Regions from separate parts of the Homo sapiens genome. Here region 2 is linked to region 1. Evidence: promoter capture Hi-C in human tissues and cell types (Jung and others, 2019). All regions are on one chromosome and are shown on one strand. Each heading gives the region's core, a stretch centred on a gene start or on the middle of the fragment in contact. The rest is flanking DNA. Distances are from core to core; before and after follow the strand shown. Region 1 holds the start of ONECUT1 (one cut homeobox 1). Region 2 has its middle 130 kb from the start of LINC02490.

What was found. Contacts are between HindIII fragments. The study calls those that stand out against the background at their distance.
Region 2: a fragment that was not itself captured here is called in contact with the fragment with the promoter of ONECUT1 in region 1 in 2 of the 25 tissues and cell types used here (lymphoblastoid cells and mesendoderm cells).

Annotation. Positions count from the first base shown.
Region 1 is chr15:52,787,663-52,795,328 of GRCh38, forward strand. It overlaps ONECUT1 (one cut homeobox 1), which reads right to left and starts at 2,674. Exons shown (of 2, transcript NM_004498.4): 1 at 1,118-2,674. The coding sequence starts at 2,222. It overlaps LOC105370824 (a long non-coding RNA gene), which reads left to right and starts at 2,768. Exons shown (of 2, transcript XR_001751550.2): 1 at 2,768-5,027; 2 at 6,689-7,666. RefSeq lists enhancers at 2,670-2,964, 2,961-3,729, 3,730-4,497, 6,754-7,451, 7,452-7,666 and a silencer at 2,712-2,781. The HindIII fragment of the contact is 12,558 bases long and covers 1-7,666 here.
Region 2 is chr15:53,242,929-53,250,594 of GRCh38, forward strand. No RefSeq gene overlaps it. Among named protein-coding and RNA genes, the nearest start is that of LINC02490, 130 kb to the left of the region's middle. The HindIII fragment of the contact is 3,887 bases long and covers 1,897-5,783 here.

The DNA of each region.
Region 1 (7,666 bases), core at 1,424-3,923:
GACCAGGAGTCAATCAACTTGGCAACCGCCGGCCGGATCTCATCAAACCCAGGCCACCCTCCGCTGTCCTTAGCTCTACCTCCCCTCATGTTCTCTACCCTCAAGGGTCGCCGAATCCTCCTGAAATCCCCGGTGGGGTTCGGGCTGGGCTCAGCTTTCTTCTCTGCCTATCCGCGGTCTCGGGGAGCCAGGCGCGGTGTCTGCGCTGCGCCAAGGAGAGCTTCCAGCTGAACTCAGAAACACCTGGGGCTTGGGGTTTCGGGCAGGAGACCTCTGCTCCTAGACTTGGGGGTCATTTACACACTCTCATCCCCAAACCCCCCTCCCGCACGGGGATTCAGACGAAAATCGCGAAGAGGAATAATAAAACAAAATGCAAAGTCCTCAGGGAGTCGGCAGCGGAGTCGGTCCCAGGACATGGCTATTGCTTTGCAGCTCTCACTGGGACCTTGGGACGGTCAGCCTCCCTCTCCTTTCCACAGCCAATTCCATGCGCAGAGAGCGTCCTAACCCTTACAACTCGTCTGTGCTACACACCCACCGCCCAATGGCTCTGAAACTTTTTGCCCATACTCTTAGATTGAGGTCACCCCAGCCAGCGCCAAAAGAATGAGCGCGGGAGGGGGTCACAGCAGCCAGTTCGGCCAAACATCGACGCTGCTCCGGCACGCTCCAGCCCAGCGCCTGGGATGTGTCAGAGGTACCTGCGAGGAACATTTGCGTGCGATTCCACGCACGCGTTGCATCCCTCTTCCCAAACCCGGATCGCTGAACTGAGAGGTGGCGCAGAGTGTCTCACCAGGTGCGGGGATTTCTCTCCGCCTCAGGCCGTACGAGCTTCCCTCGCTGTCCCTGAGCGCAAATGAGCCTCTTCAGTCGCCGAGGCCCGGCCGCTTAGCTCTCGGAGCCTTCCACAGCCCAACACCCTGAGCCCTGGAGTAGGCAATTTGCTCCCACAGCCCTGTGCTGGCCCTTCCAGGCACAGGGAGTCCCCCTTCTAGGGGTAGGGGCGGGCGGGATGAAGCGCACCCAGCCCTCTCTCCTACCCTTCCTCCTTTGGTCCCTTCGGCTTTCGTGTACCTTATCTCCCGCGCGCCCAGCTCCTTGGCCGGCTCACCTGCTAAGCGGAGCGCGGACATGCGCTGGAACTCCGGCTCCTGCAGCCACTTCCACATCCTCCGGAAGGTCTCCCGGCCGGATTTGAGTTTGCTCCAGGGTTTGGGGTTGCGCAGCAGGTCCGAGAGGGTCCCCTGGGAGCGGCAGAGCACCCTCTGCGCGAAGATGGCCTGTGGGATGCTGTAGCGCTTGAGCTCGGTGGTGATACGCTGCGCCACCTCTTTGGTATTGATCTCTTCCATCTGCCCTGAATTACTTCCATTGCTGACCTGCGCGCCGGTCACCGAAGGGTTGGGCTCCCGGGCTGTGCCCAGGAGTTGCCCGTGGCCCTGGGCGTTCAGGTGGGCGTGGGGATGGTGCGGAGGAAGGCCGTTGATGGGCACCATGCCGGCCGAGGTGGGCGTGAGGTGCTGCTCCCCGTGGCGGCCGAGCATGGCCGGGTGGTGGGCTTCGAAGCCGTTGGGGGTGAGCATCTTGTCGGTGGGCATGGCGGCCCCCGGGTGGGCATAGTGGGGGAGCCCTTGCTGGGAGTTGTGGATGCTGCCCAGACCGGAGCTGGAGAGGGGCGAGAGGCTCTGGCCCATGCCGGCCACGTCCTTGTGGTAGGGGGTATAGAGGTTATTCATGGAGGCCAGCCCGCGCTCATCCCGCATGAGCGTGAAGCTACCGCTCACGTTGCCCGCCAGGCGCTGGTGGTGGTGCGGGTGGTGGTGGTGATGGTGGTGGTGGTGATGGTGGGGGAACTTGTCCGAGACTGTGGAGATGGGAGGCAGCGGCTGCAGAGGGGTCAAGGTGGTGTAGGTGGTGGGCATGCTCATACCTGGGGGAGTCTCGCAGGCCATGGTCATGGTGGGATGCAGGGGGCCGGCCAGGCTGTGCTCAGGGGCCCGGTGGTGGTGGTGGTAATCTCCGCCGCCGCTGCCGCCGTCCAGCAGGGACGCCATGCCCATGGAGCGCGGGTGCGCGGGGGGCAGGTGGCTGCCGCGGTGCGCCACGGAGCTGCGCGCGTGGGGGCTGCCGCCCAGCAGGTCGGCAGGGGCGGGCACCGGCTCATGGCTCACCCCGTGCAGCTCGCCGATCGCTTCCATGGTCAGCTGCGCGTTCATCGTGATCCGGGCGAGCAGGCGGCGGACACAACATCGATGTGGCCAGGCAGAGGCGGCGAGGGGCGCACGGAGTCCGGTCTTCACATCGGCTGCTGGCGACTGTTGCCTTCCTTCCTCTCACTGTGGGGCTCTGTCTCTCTCTCTCTCTCTCTCCGTGTGTGTGTGTCCGTGTGTGCGTGTGCGTGTGTGTGTGTGTGTGTGTCTCGCCTTCCCTCTTACCCCCCACCTTCCCCTCTGCGTCCTCGGCTTTTTTTTTTTTAATATTAATTTCCAAAGAGGATCCGCGCCGTTGGGAGAGCGCAGTGCCCCAGCCCGCCCGCCTCGGCCACCTCTCGCCCCTCTCTTTCTTAAAATTCTGAGGTCTCCGGCTCCCCTGCCGCGGCCCGCGCGCCTGCCGCGTCTGCTGCCTGCCCGCCCCGCTGGCCAGCTTGAGCCATGGCTCTGTTACTGTTACAGACTCTGTGGCCGCGGTTCGGTAGCCGCCGCCGCCGCCGCCGCAGCGGCCCGCCCTCACGCCCGCCAGGCGCAGCGCGCATGCGCGAGGCCCGCCCCCGCCCCCTAGGTCGCGGCGCGCCAGGCCCTTGGCGTCCCGGTACAAATGAAGGAGGGGGCCCAGCGCCTTCCCTGCGGCGCTGGATGGCCAGGGAGCTGCGGGCACGTGCGAAAGATTGGCGCAGAGCGCGACCTGGGGCCGCCGCTGCAATCCCAGGAGACTCGCGCCTGGCTCGCTCGCCTCCCTTGCTTGAGTGGGCTCTGTCCTCCCAGCCCGGGGACGCTCGTGTCGGGCTTCTAGCGGCTGGAGTGCTGTGCTTGGAGACATCGCCCCTCTCTCTCCAGTTGCTGCTTCCCGGTGCAGCTTGCCCGGGGAGCTGGGGACTGTGTCATCACCCCTTCGGCTCTAGCCCACTAAGCTTTATTTCCCGGGGGGCTGCTGGGAGTGCGCTTTCCCACCCTTGAATTCACGGCCTATTGGGGGATGGGGGTTGGGGTGGGGTGGGGTGCAGATTGCTTAAAGGGCTGGGTCCGTTTGGCGGCCGTTGACCCGGCACCCTTCGTCCTCCCAGATACATACTTGCCCACCCTTTCTCATCCATGCCCTGGGGAGAGGAGTAATCAGTGCCAAGAATCCCAGTTCGGGCCATACCTCACTGTCCCCCGCCGCCTGGCTCCTTCTCCCGCTCAGCTCATAATTAAGGCTGTGCGTCCGCTTCGCCGATGACTCGGCCTGTGGAGGGGGGCGAGGGAGAGCGGAGGGAGTGCCCTGGAGGGTACCCATGTTAACTTCCGGGTGCTGGTGGGGCCGTGGAGGCTCGGGCCGTCCCTGCGGTTACTCCCAAGGCCCTCCTGCTAAAGCACCCGGAGGCGGTTGCTTTCCAGAAGTACTGACGCAGACAGGGTGGACGCCGGCGCGCGGGTCTCCGCTTGGCCCCTAGGGACGCCCTTTTCCCGGCGTCCCCGAGAGACGCCTCCAGATTTGAAAATCAATTCAGCTTCGGGAGTAATTTCGCCCTTCCCACAGTCACGCTCCAATCTGGAATCGAACCTGGTCTTTGGGCCTGGTGGGGACGTGTGCGGAGGCCCCCAGTTTGAGACGTACACCCGGCCGCCACATGCCGCGGCTTTCTTTCATTTACAAAAGAAAGAAAAAAAATCCGCAACAAAAGGCAGAGCCGTGTCCGCTTAGGTGCTTTCATCCCTCAGAGAAAGGACAGATGTGCCCATTGTCCAGCCCGTGGCAGTTATGGCCGGGTCAGCGCCGAGCCTCAGCCCCAGGCAAGCGGTGGTTACAATGAGAATAGCCTCTCAGAGCCGGGGTATCTGGACTCAGATATGGAATAAAGTGTGTGTAGCCTGTGCTGGGCCAGACTCAGACTGTAGGTTTGCTTGCTGGGGCACCGAACTGCAGCCCACCCGTGGTGTTTCCACTGCAAATGCTCCCAAGCCCTTAGAGAGGCCAAGGCTGTGGTAGTGGTGGTAGTTGGGTTTCCAAGGCAAAAGTTTGGGCTGGCCAACCCTTTGGGAAAAGTTCCCACCGGCCCAGGCATGAGTAGGCCTATCTCTTTGCCCAGGTCCCTGCTACCACCAGGGCAACATCCTAATCCAGGTAGGTCAAGTTCAGTGGATACAGTCAACGTGACTTCCTTGAAGGCGGCCATGTCCTGGGACTGGTTAATCTAGCTGGTTTTATCACCAGAGGCACTCCCATCCTGTCCAAACAATGCATATGGAGGCCCTGCAAATAATTCATCTCAATGGATTTCATGTCTACTTTCATAATGAACAGTTAGGAATTTAGGAACCCCCAGAGAAGAAAAGATATTTTAGGGAAAATACACTGATGTAAAGGAACTCAGAAAACACGATTAACTCTTTAAACTTGTATCTATATCTACCTATTCATACACGCATACACACAAGCACAAAACATATATTTCCTGCCTAGTATATTACAGTACCTTGGTGGAAAGCTGCATCTTTGGTTTTTAATTGTTTCCATTCTCATTTCCTACAGCATGAGACCAAACAATGGGTTAAAGTAGCAGGGAGTCTTTCAGCTAAACAGTTGTCCCCCCGCCCCCGCCCCAATATTTTAATCCCGCTGAAGTGATTGATTTGCCCTTATGACAACTATCTTCCCAAAAGGCAGTTTGTTAAAAGAAAGAAAGAAGTAAATACCACCAAGTGCACAAATTGTTCATGGTTTTCTCTTTGTGTAGCTAATTAGGAACTTGATCTTGGAAACCCTCCTTCATGAGAGGCACTCAGCTGAGCCTCTGGAGTCCACCTGAATAAGGCTGGCATCAGGTGAGCTCAACTTCCCCTCTCCCCCAAGGGCATTTATGAAAAGGGGGGCTGGCTCTGTGTTGGTCCCTAAAGAAGGAGCCAACGAAAAGACCTGGAGAAGCACCATATGTGTTGGCTTGCTCAGTAATTTTTGATTTTTTTCTAAAACATTAAAATATTGTATGTGCAGGATTTGCTTTGGTTTGCAAATCTCCCTAATCTTTCTTGGCTATTCACACCATTTATCTAACCATTGTTCTCCCGTAATTGACTGAGTTGCAGTGGTTTCTCAGTCAGAAACAACATATTACTGTGTTCTTATTTGACCTCTCAAAATTTTTCTTCTTACTAAGGAAGTGACGGGTAGGAAGAATGCTCTTCTTAGGCCTAGTTAAGGTGAATTTGCATGTGTGGAGGGAGGACGGGCACTAGAGAGATTGTTAACTGCTGGAAGGCTGGGACTACTTTCTGTCGTTTTGTCCCTCTCCTTCTTTCCCCCTTCCAGTGCCCAGAACAGAGCCTGGCACCCATTAGGTACACTATGGGGATTGAAGGAATTAAGAGTCCACAGAGGAGTCCCTGGAAACTTGGTAGGTGTAGGTCAATGTGTGTGATTGAGGAGGAGGACTTATTTTTAGCTGCTTAGATTTTGAGTAGCTGCAGGAAATTTAAAGAAAAAAATAGTGTCAATCACTAGCAGAAAATTACATAATGTATATATGTAAGAAAAAAGGAAATAAGACTATGACTGGATGCTTGTTGCTGACAATATTTTCAGAGTGAAAACAAGGAACTTAGGATGTTTATTTTGTAAATGTCAGGAGAAGAACCTGGGATATGAGATGGACAGGGGCAATCCTTCTTTTGCTAGGTAGGCTAGAGCTTACCACGCTGCCCTACCAGGTTCAGCAAAGAAAAAGCGCAAAGAGAATAAAACCATTCCTCCAAATACTGGCCACATGAGCTTCTCTGAAAACCTTCCATTGGTTTCAGAATTAATGCTTTAATTATTTTTGTGAGTAGTAGAGGCGTAACGTATGGCCCAGTCCCAGTTCTCAGGACCATTCCAAAGAAATGTTTCTAGCTCCTCCGAACCATGAAATGTCTACTTCCCATTTTTTGGACTCACAAAGAGCGAGATCCTGGGTGTCAGGGCAAATTCCTCCACCCAGGGATCCAGGGGGAGGCTGGCTCCTTGGCTAGAGCCCCAGGGCATATTCACTGGCATTTCTGATGCCTGTAGCTAGTCTAACATTAAACTTGTGGGGAGGAACCATTTCTTTGGTATCTGGCTACAGTAGAGCACTAGATAGCTGGAGAGTGAAAGACTTGGTCCTGGGTGCTTCCTGGCAAGCTCTCCTGTTCCACTTCTAGAGAAATTTTATTCAGAAAATTGCTGCAGGCTTAGAGTAGAACACCAAGAAATTCAGAATGGGGTGGCCTGGTGACTCACTATTGAAAACCATTAAAAAAAAATCACTCAATGACTTCTCTCCACTCTCTGGGGACCAAGGAAGTGGTAACTAATTATGGTAGCCCCTTGCTTCAATCTTTGATACTCTGTTTAGCGTATCATTTTATTCATATGTTCGGTAACATTTTTCTTTCTCAAATTACAGTTTTTGCCCAAGAAAATATTTTTAAATTGGGCTTTTTTTTTTTTTTTTTTTTTTTTTTTGCAGTTTCCTCTGTTTTATCTACTTCTTGCCCTTCCATATCCCAAAGAGAAGATGCTCTGTCAAAGGGCTGTCAGCTGGTGCCATCCGCAACTAACTCCACGTTCTGGGAGTTGCCGAGGGCTGCCTGGGCGGCCATCCCAGGACACCAGACCACTCGGCTCGTATCTCTGGTTACTTCCTGCGCTGGGGAAAAAAGAACACGCTTGCTCTCCTGGGTCCTCGGGTAAACTACAGGCGGCTTCTCCTGGGTTGGAATCCGTTTTGGCGGTCGCCTAATTCCGCGAGGGCTTTTTCACGGCTTCAAGCCAAGAGCGCTGAAGGGAGGAAAGGTATACTGATGCCGTAGGGCTGAGGGAGGGATTCCAGGCTCCTGGGGTGTTCTTCTGCAGCAGGACCCCTCGCTGGCCGCTGCCAGCCCACTTCCGGAGGAGTTGGCCTCGTCTAGCCAACAGTTCAGTGGGATTTCTTTCTTGGACATAACTTCATATCATTGAAATAGTCTACAAAAGACACCAGCTCAAGCCGCGAGGGCGTTGAATTGTCCGGATTTGGGGTGGCGGTTAATGCTCCTCTTCTGGTGCCTCCCCCGCTGGGGCCCTGCATTCCATTAGCCCCGCGCTGGGGTAGAGATGCCAAGTTTAGGGGCTGGAGAGGACAAGGGGAAGGACGAGAGAACTCTTGCACCGACGGATGTAGTTCCAAGCGACCCGAAATGAGGAAAACCCAGAAGGGGCGGACGGAGGGCAAAGTCGGCCCAGGACGATCTTCAGGCGCACCATTCTCTCGCCCTGGAGGGACAGGGAAGGGCGGAAGCGGAGGGTGGCTGTCCAGCCGGGAGCCTCTGATCCACGGGGCTTGGACCAGCCACCCCACCCGAGGGCGGCTGAGGACTGGGCGGCCGAGCTCGCGGCCCACTTAGCTAATGCCGGGTAATGCCGACCCCGGCCCAAGAGCAGCAGCTGCACTTGGGAAGGAAAACTC
Region 2 (7,666 bases), core at 2,590-5,089, 460 kb after region 1:
TATGTATTTTTTTTTTTGAAAATGGGAACATCTCAGCAACAGTGCACGGTGGGGCCATTGCTGAAAATATGATTGTATGATTGCTTCATTAATGGGGAAGGGAAGATGCCTCTGGAGACCCCAAAGCAGGTTTCTGGAGGTGGGGCAATGGATGAGGATGGTTGATAGGAACAATCCTGGCTGCCCCGACAGTGGGATGTGTTAGCCATGGGGACTGGACAGTTCCACGGTCCACATAGGAGGATGCCACTGTCAGTCACAGGATTCTAGGAGACCAGCTGCTCAGCTGATAGCTCTTCTGATGAAGTGTGGATAGATGTAGGCACCCAGAGAGCAGGAGCAAACAAGAGGAAACACATGAGGAAAAACAGCCCACTTATGCTTTCTGACTTGTCTAGAAAGGGAGACTATCAGGTATTCATTTGTCTGACAGAAGATCTAGACTCTGACCACATGAATTTGATCTTAAAGTTTTGTTTTGTTTGTTTGTTTTTTCAGTGATGGGAAAGGTGTTTTAAGGATGTGGTGAGGGCCTTGGCGATACAATACGTGAAAAATTAGATTTAATATTTAAAGTTGCTTTAAGAACATTGGAACGGCAATAAAAGAAAAGGAGAATCTCGGCCAGGCGCGGTGGCTCACGCCTGTAATCCCATCACTTTGGGAGGCTGAGGCAGGCAGATCACGAGGTCAGGAGATTGAGATCATCCTGACTATCACAGTGAAACCCCGCCTCTACTAAAACATACAAAAAATTAGCGGGGTGTGGTGGCGGGCACCTGTAGTCCCAGTTACTTGGGAGGTTGAGGCAGGAGAATGGCGTGAACCGGGGAGGCAGAGCTTGCAGTGAGCCGAGATCACACCACTGCACTCCAGCCTGGGCTACAGAGTGAGACTCCGTCTCAAAAAAAAAAAGAAAAGAAAAAGAAAAGGAGAATCTCATGTCCATGTGATGCTACATTATTGCATTTCTTGTCATTATTTTTCTACTGCTTTTTCATGTGTACATGATGTTCATCTGTTTACTAGGGGCAGAGCAACACTTGGAATTAGGCTTTTCTCAGTTAGCTGTACATCATCAATGTTTATTTCTTTGTTTTAGTCCTGAGTTTTTAAATGCAAAAGATGGCACCGTGTCTTCTGAGGTTAGGCCACCTAGGAAGAAGAGTACAGAGTGTTGGAGTGTGTGGTGAAGGAAACCAGGAAAAGGAGGAAGGGCAGGCAGAAAGGGAAGAGAGAGGGGAGAATGTGAGGAATAGTGGGCCATATGGTGCTCTGCAGATGCTCCATACATTTTATATTTCAATTTAAAATTAGTAGTGATGACAGTGATGCATTTTATGTGGCAATTTATAGTTTCCCAGGTGCTTGCATATCCCTTTGGTCCTCATGGGTCCTTGGGGAAAATCAAGGCAGCCATTTCCTTGCAGATAAATTAAAAGGAGTTTATCCTATCTGATATAAATTAGTGATCTCACCCATTAATAAGTTTTTTAAAAAGAATTTTTAAAGAGCTGTATTAGGTTCACAGAAAAATTGAGTGAAAGTTACAAAAATTTCCCATATACCCCTTGCCCCAACACATGCCCAGCCTCCCCAACTATCAACATCCCTTGCCAGAATGGTTCATTTTTTACAACTGATGGACCTACATTGACACATTATCACCACCCAGAATCCATAGGTTACATTAGAGTTCACTATTGGTGTTTTACATTCTATGAGTCTGGACAAATGTATAATGTCATGTATCCACCATTGTAGTTTCATATAGGCTGCTTTCACTGCCTTAAAAATTATCTGTGTTAAATATCATAGCTATTTATTATTATTTATTATAATAAATAAATACCTATTTATTTCTCCTTTTATCCCTCAACCTCTGGCAACCACTCATCTTTTTACTGTCTCCATAGTTTTGCCTTTTAAATAATGTTCTGTTATTAAAATCATACAGTTTGTAGGCTTTTCAGATTGGCTTCCTTCACTTAGCGATGTGCATTTAATTTTCCACCATGTCTTTTCATGGCTTGACAGCTCTTTGATGTTTTTAGCACTGAATAATATTCCATTGTCTGTACGTACCACAGTATTTCCCCATTCACCTACTGAAGGACTTCTTAGTTGCTTCTAGTTTTTGGCAATGATAAATAAAGGTGCTATAAACATCTGTGTACATGTTGAACGAACATAAGTTTTCAACTCCTTTGGGTAAATACTAAAAATTGTGATTGTTAGATCATATGGTTAAGAGTATGTTTAGTTTTGTAAGAAACCACCAAACTGTCCTCCAAGGTGGCTGTGCCATTTTGCATTCCCATCAGCAACGAAGGAGAGTTCTTGTAGCTCTACATCCTTGCCAGCATTTGGTGTTGTCAGTGTTCTGGGTTTTGGCCGTTCTGATAAGTGTGTAGTGGTATTTTGTTGTTTTTAAAATTGGCTCTTAGTGAGATATTAAAAATAAATTTCTGTATTTGTTTAAAAGAGTTATTCACTTTGGTGATTAAGTAAGCTAGAATTAATATAGTTGAGAACTATAATAAAAGAATTTATTGATCTTTACTTATGTTATTAACTCCTTTCATAATCCGAGTTGTGAACTTCTGATTTACGTCAATTTTTAGTTTTCCTTTTCTTCTTAGGTTCCTTCAATGGCTTCCACCTAAGTGTCAATAAAAAAGAAGAAAATGTGCTATTCCAAAATATTTAAAAGCATAAACATATGCTTGTCTTATGATAAATAAAATGAACACTGTTCCCATCCTCATTCAAGAGGGAGTTGGTTTGAAAGGGAGAAATGTACTGATACGGTTTGGCTGTGTCCTGACACAAATCTCATCTTGAATTGTAGCTTCCATAATTCCCTCGTGTTGTGGGAGGGACCCAGTGGGAGATGATTGAATCATGGGGGGTGGATTTCCCCATACTGTTCTCATGGTGGTGAATAAGTCTCACAAGATCTGATGGTTTTATAAGGGGAAACCCCTTTCCCTTGGCTCTCACTCTTCTCTTGTCTGCCACCATGTGAAATGTGCCTTTCACATTCCGCCATGATTGTGAGGCCTCCCCAGCCACATGGAACTGTCAGTCCATTAAGACTCTTTCCTTTGTAAATTGCCTAGTCTAGGGTATGTCTTTATCAGCAGTGTGAAAATGGACTAATACATGTACCTTGTTTCTCTCTGTGTCATTTATTTTAGGAAGGGAGGAAAACATTACCCTCTGAGTTATATATCAAAAGAGGAAACTTAACAGTGTCATCCCCCTTCAATACTAACGCACACCAAACACAGACCTCTCTCTCACACACACACACACACACACACACACACACACACACCACCCTTTGGCATCAGTGGACTAAGGAGATTTGGGTAACAATCTCAGTTATACCACTTGCTATATATTAACATTTAGTAATAAGTTGCAGCCTTCTGGGTTCGTTTTCTCATTGTTACAACTGGGAATAAGCCATCTGCCTCACCAGGTTGTTGTGTGGATTATGTGAAATAATGCACTGGAAACATCTACAGTGGGTCTGAACTCTGGTTGTGCAACCACAAACACTTGTAGAGCTTCAAAATAACAACAACAAGAGCTGATCTGGCTCCCTACAGACTTACTGAATCTCATCATTGTGGGTGGGCTGAAGGCTCAATATTTGACTAAGCTCTGCAGGCGGTTCTGATGCTCAGCCAGAGTGGAGAGTCCTTGGTCTGTAGCACAATGCCTCTCCATCAGGTTTTATCCTTTTTCACTCTCCCTGCAGGGCTCCTCTGACAGGTGCATCTCTTGCCTAGGAGAAAAATATAAAACCAATGCATTCACATAAAAACAATGGGGCACCTGAGATGTTCCACTTTCCTGGAAGGAAAGGAAGGAACCCTATTCTGCTTTTGGGCTCCATGGTTCAGGTAACGTAGACACAAGTCCTGACCTACAGACTCATGCTGCACTTGATGGAGCTCTGAGAGCAGCCTGTTTTCCTCCTGGCTTCTAAGTAGAGTGTTGCTGCCAATCAAACCAAAGCATCTGATTTTCTTGATGGTTTTCAGAAAAAGAGATCCCAAAGCTTCCCTCTATAAACCAACCAATTCTTGGTTTTCCAGCACTTTCCCCTGTGCCAGACTGAGAAACACTTGTCTAAGTTTCTCTGGCTTTTCAAACAGCGAGTCATCCAACCCCCAGTAACTGATAAACTCAAGGGCTTCTTTCATGATCTAAATTCCTTTTTTCTCCCTTCCCCTCTGTCCTTTCTTTTCAGTCACCTCTGATGCAGCCTCTATCAATCAGCTTGTTGGGTTGGCTCTAGCTCTTTTAAGCAGCTCTTAACAAAGCATGGAGGGAAACATCATGACCACAAAAAGTGATGTCATATACGGACACACTGACTTTTTTGTTTTTGTTTTTTTTGGTAACTATAGGGAATGAGGACTTATTTCAAAATTAGAAATGAAGCAAGAGTTCTGTGATTCTTGGCCTCAGTGCCATAAAAGGGTAAAGAATGACTTTTCCAGCAGAGAACTATGTTATCATGAAGGTGAGAGAAGATTAAAAGAAAAATCAACACTACAGTCCTGCCACTCAAGTGTTTGTTGCTGAGGGCATCAAAGATTCCTGCTGCCAATTCTACTTAAGCATTCTCCACAGCTTTGCTCATTCCTCCTCAGAAGCAGACCTTCTCCTCTGCCACTGCTGCCTTTGATACAGGCTTGATTCCTGTCCTTTGCCTGTTGGGGGAGTGAGGAAAAGGGAGGACACCTGTATCTTCCCCAGCAGTGTTCAGAGCACCCCTCACAGAGACCCGACCCCTGGCCTTCTCCCTCTGAAGGAAGGATATAGGGCTTACTTCTGAACACATTTCTGGAAAGGCACATGCAGGGATGTAGATCATCAAACCAGATGGGGACAGGGGAAGAGGATGTGACTTAAGCTGTCCCAGTGGCCTGGATCACAGTGCCTACTGAAGGAACCTGGCCCCAGGAAACAGCTGGGTGAGTGACAATACAGGGGCACCAGGCAGAATGCCCGGTCTGCCCGCGTGGGCTGTGCTAACCCCTGAGACAGACATGGGCTTTCAGAACTGTGAAATACTCCGCCTTTGCCTTCTCAGATGAGACTTACTTCTTTTGTAAAGAGTCAGTTCCCTTTAATATCGGACGGTTCCCAACAACCTCATGACTTCAGCATCATCTCAATTTTACTTAAAATAGATCTAGGCAGGTTTTATTCCTTGCCCAAGTATCCAGAACTAGTAAACAGGGTGAGGGTAGCATTGAAAGCCAACTCTGTCAGACCCCCAAATCAATGTACCTTTCCTTAAAACAAAGTGGAACAGATGTTTTCAATAAAAATCTAAAACTATTAATGTGACTCACCCGTATCTTTAGCCCACATCAGCCTAGAGCTATAATACACAATACAATATATACATTATTACTCTGGCTAAACCTTGACCCAGGATCCATTCAAAGTGCCCCTTCTCCTCTTCCTCTAATTATTTCTAGGCATCCTCAGGAAGTATTTTACTTGCAATCACAAACATCATCTTCTTGGTTCCTATTAGAATCTACATTTTCCTTTTTTTTTTTTTTTTCTTGGGACGGAGTCTCGCTCTGTCGCACAGGCTGGAGTGCAGTGGCGCGATCTTGGCTCACTGCAAGCTCCACCTCCCAGGTTCACACCATTCTCCTGCCTCAGCCTCCGGAGTAGCTGGGACTACAGGCACCCGCCACCACGCCCGGCTAATTTTTTTCTTGTATTTTTAGTTGAGACGGGGTTTCACCGTATTAGCCAGGATGGTCTTGATCTCCCGACCTCGTGATCCACCTGCCTCAGCCTCCCAAAGTGCTGGGATTACAGGTGTGAGCCACCGTGCCCAGCCTACATTTTCCATTCTTACACTGGAGTGGTAACGTCTTTTTCCCAGGCCTTTGGATAACACCTGCCCATTGTGAGGGCGCCACAAATCCATACTGTCCTGGTGCATCCATACCACCATCACTTGATGGAGACAAAATCTTCTTCAGTCCAAACAAGGATAATCCCACTAGATGTCCATGCTGTTGGGCCTTCTCAGGAGGCCAGAGAGCTTGGAGAGGCATCTAATAATTACTAGACAGCGTCTAGTAATCTTCTGCTGATACTGTATGCTGCAAGACAAGCTAGAAAATGACCTATGCTTCCAATAATTGAGGGTGTAAGCAAATATCTCTTTTGGATTATTTTTGCTCCCTTCTTTCTTCTAGCTATCTCTTCCTGGGACTCAGACCCTAGATCATAGATTTAGGGCCAAAGATATATATATATATAAAATATATTTTAAAAGATAACATTTTTTAGAAAACTATGCTTTACAATATTGTCCTAATAAACTAATTTGGGTAGATACTTTAATGGCGTATACCAGGAGACTGCCATAATAATTACAGAAGTTTATGTTTTCCATACTATTACTAGTGTCCTGTGTTTAACTTATATGCATGCGAAGTCAATCTGGTATGTTCAAAAGAAAACACAACCACAGGCTCAGTGAGATGTAGTGGCATATCCGGGAACTAGCAGTCTAGTTCCAGTCTAGGAAATCTGTGTTCTAGGCCTACTTTTGTTACCCACAAGCTAATCGGCATTGGATAGGCCATGGAAGCTCTTTGGTCCTCAGTTTGCTTACCTGTAAAATAGCAGTAATAAGTGTCTACCCTATCTTTCAGGGTTTTATATGGATCAAATGAGAAAAAAGATGTTAAAAATGTTGAACACAAGATTAGGGATATGTCAGATGGGGAACTTTCTGGATCTACCATACCATAGCTATTAGAATTTTCACTCCTGGCCAGGCATGGTGGCTCATGTCTGTAATCCCAGCAGTGTAGGAGACCAAGGTGGGCAGATCACTTGAGGTCAGGAGTTCAAGACCAGCCTTGTGAATATGGTGAAACCCCATATCTACTTAAAAAAATATAAAAATTAGCGTTTGTCATGGTGGCACGCGGCTGTAATCTCAGCTACTCGGGAGGCTGAGGCAGGAGAATCACTTGAGCCTGGGAGGTGGAGGTGGCAGTGAGCTGAGATGGCACCACTGCACTCCAGCCTGGGTGACAGAATGAGACTCTGTCTTAAATTTAAAAAAAAAAAATATATATATATATATATATACACACACACATCTAATTTAAGAAGAGCCAGCTGGGTGCAGTGGCTCACACCTGTAATCTCAACACTTTGGGAGGCCAAGGTAGGTGGATCACCTGAGGTCAGGAGTTCGAGACCAGCCTGGCGAACATGGTGAAACCCTGTCTCTACTAAAAATACAAAAACTAGCTGGGCGTGGTGGTGAGTGCCTGTAATCCCAGCTACTCAAGGGAGGCTGAGGCAGGAGGACTGCTGAAACCTGGGAGGCAGAGGTTGCAGTGAGCTGAGATCGTGCCATTGCACTCCAGACTGGGTGACAACAGCTAGACTCCATCTCAAAAGAAAAAAAAAAAAAAGCCAAAGCTTGAATATGTGAATGCTAGAAGTGACCACAAACCTAATAAGTGACAGGTTAAACTGCAGGGAACAGAATGCAATTTGCTTTCCCTTTAGCCAAAAATTAGGATGTTTGATTCAAACTTCTTGGACTATGGATAATATCAACCTCCCCCTTTCCAAATAATGTGTGACTTAT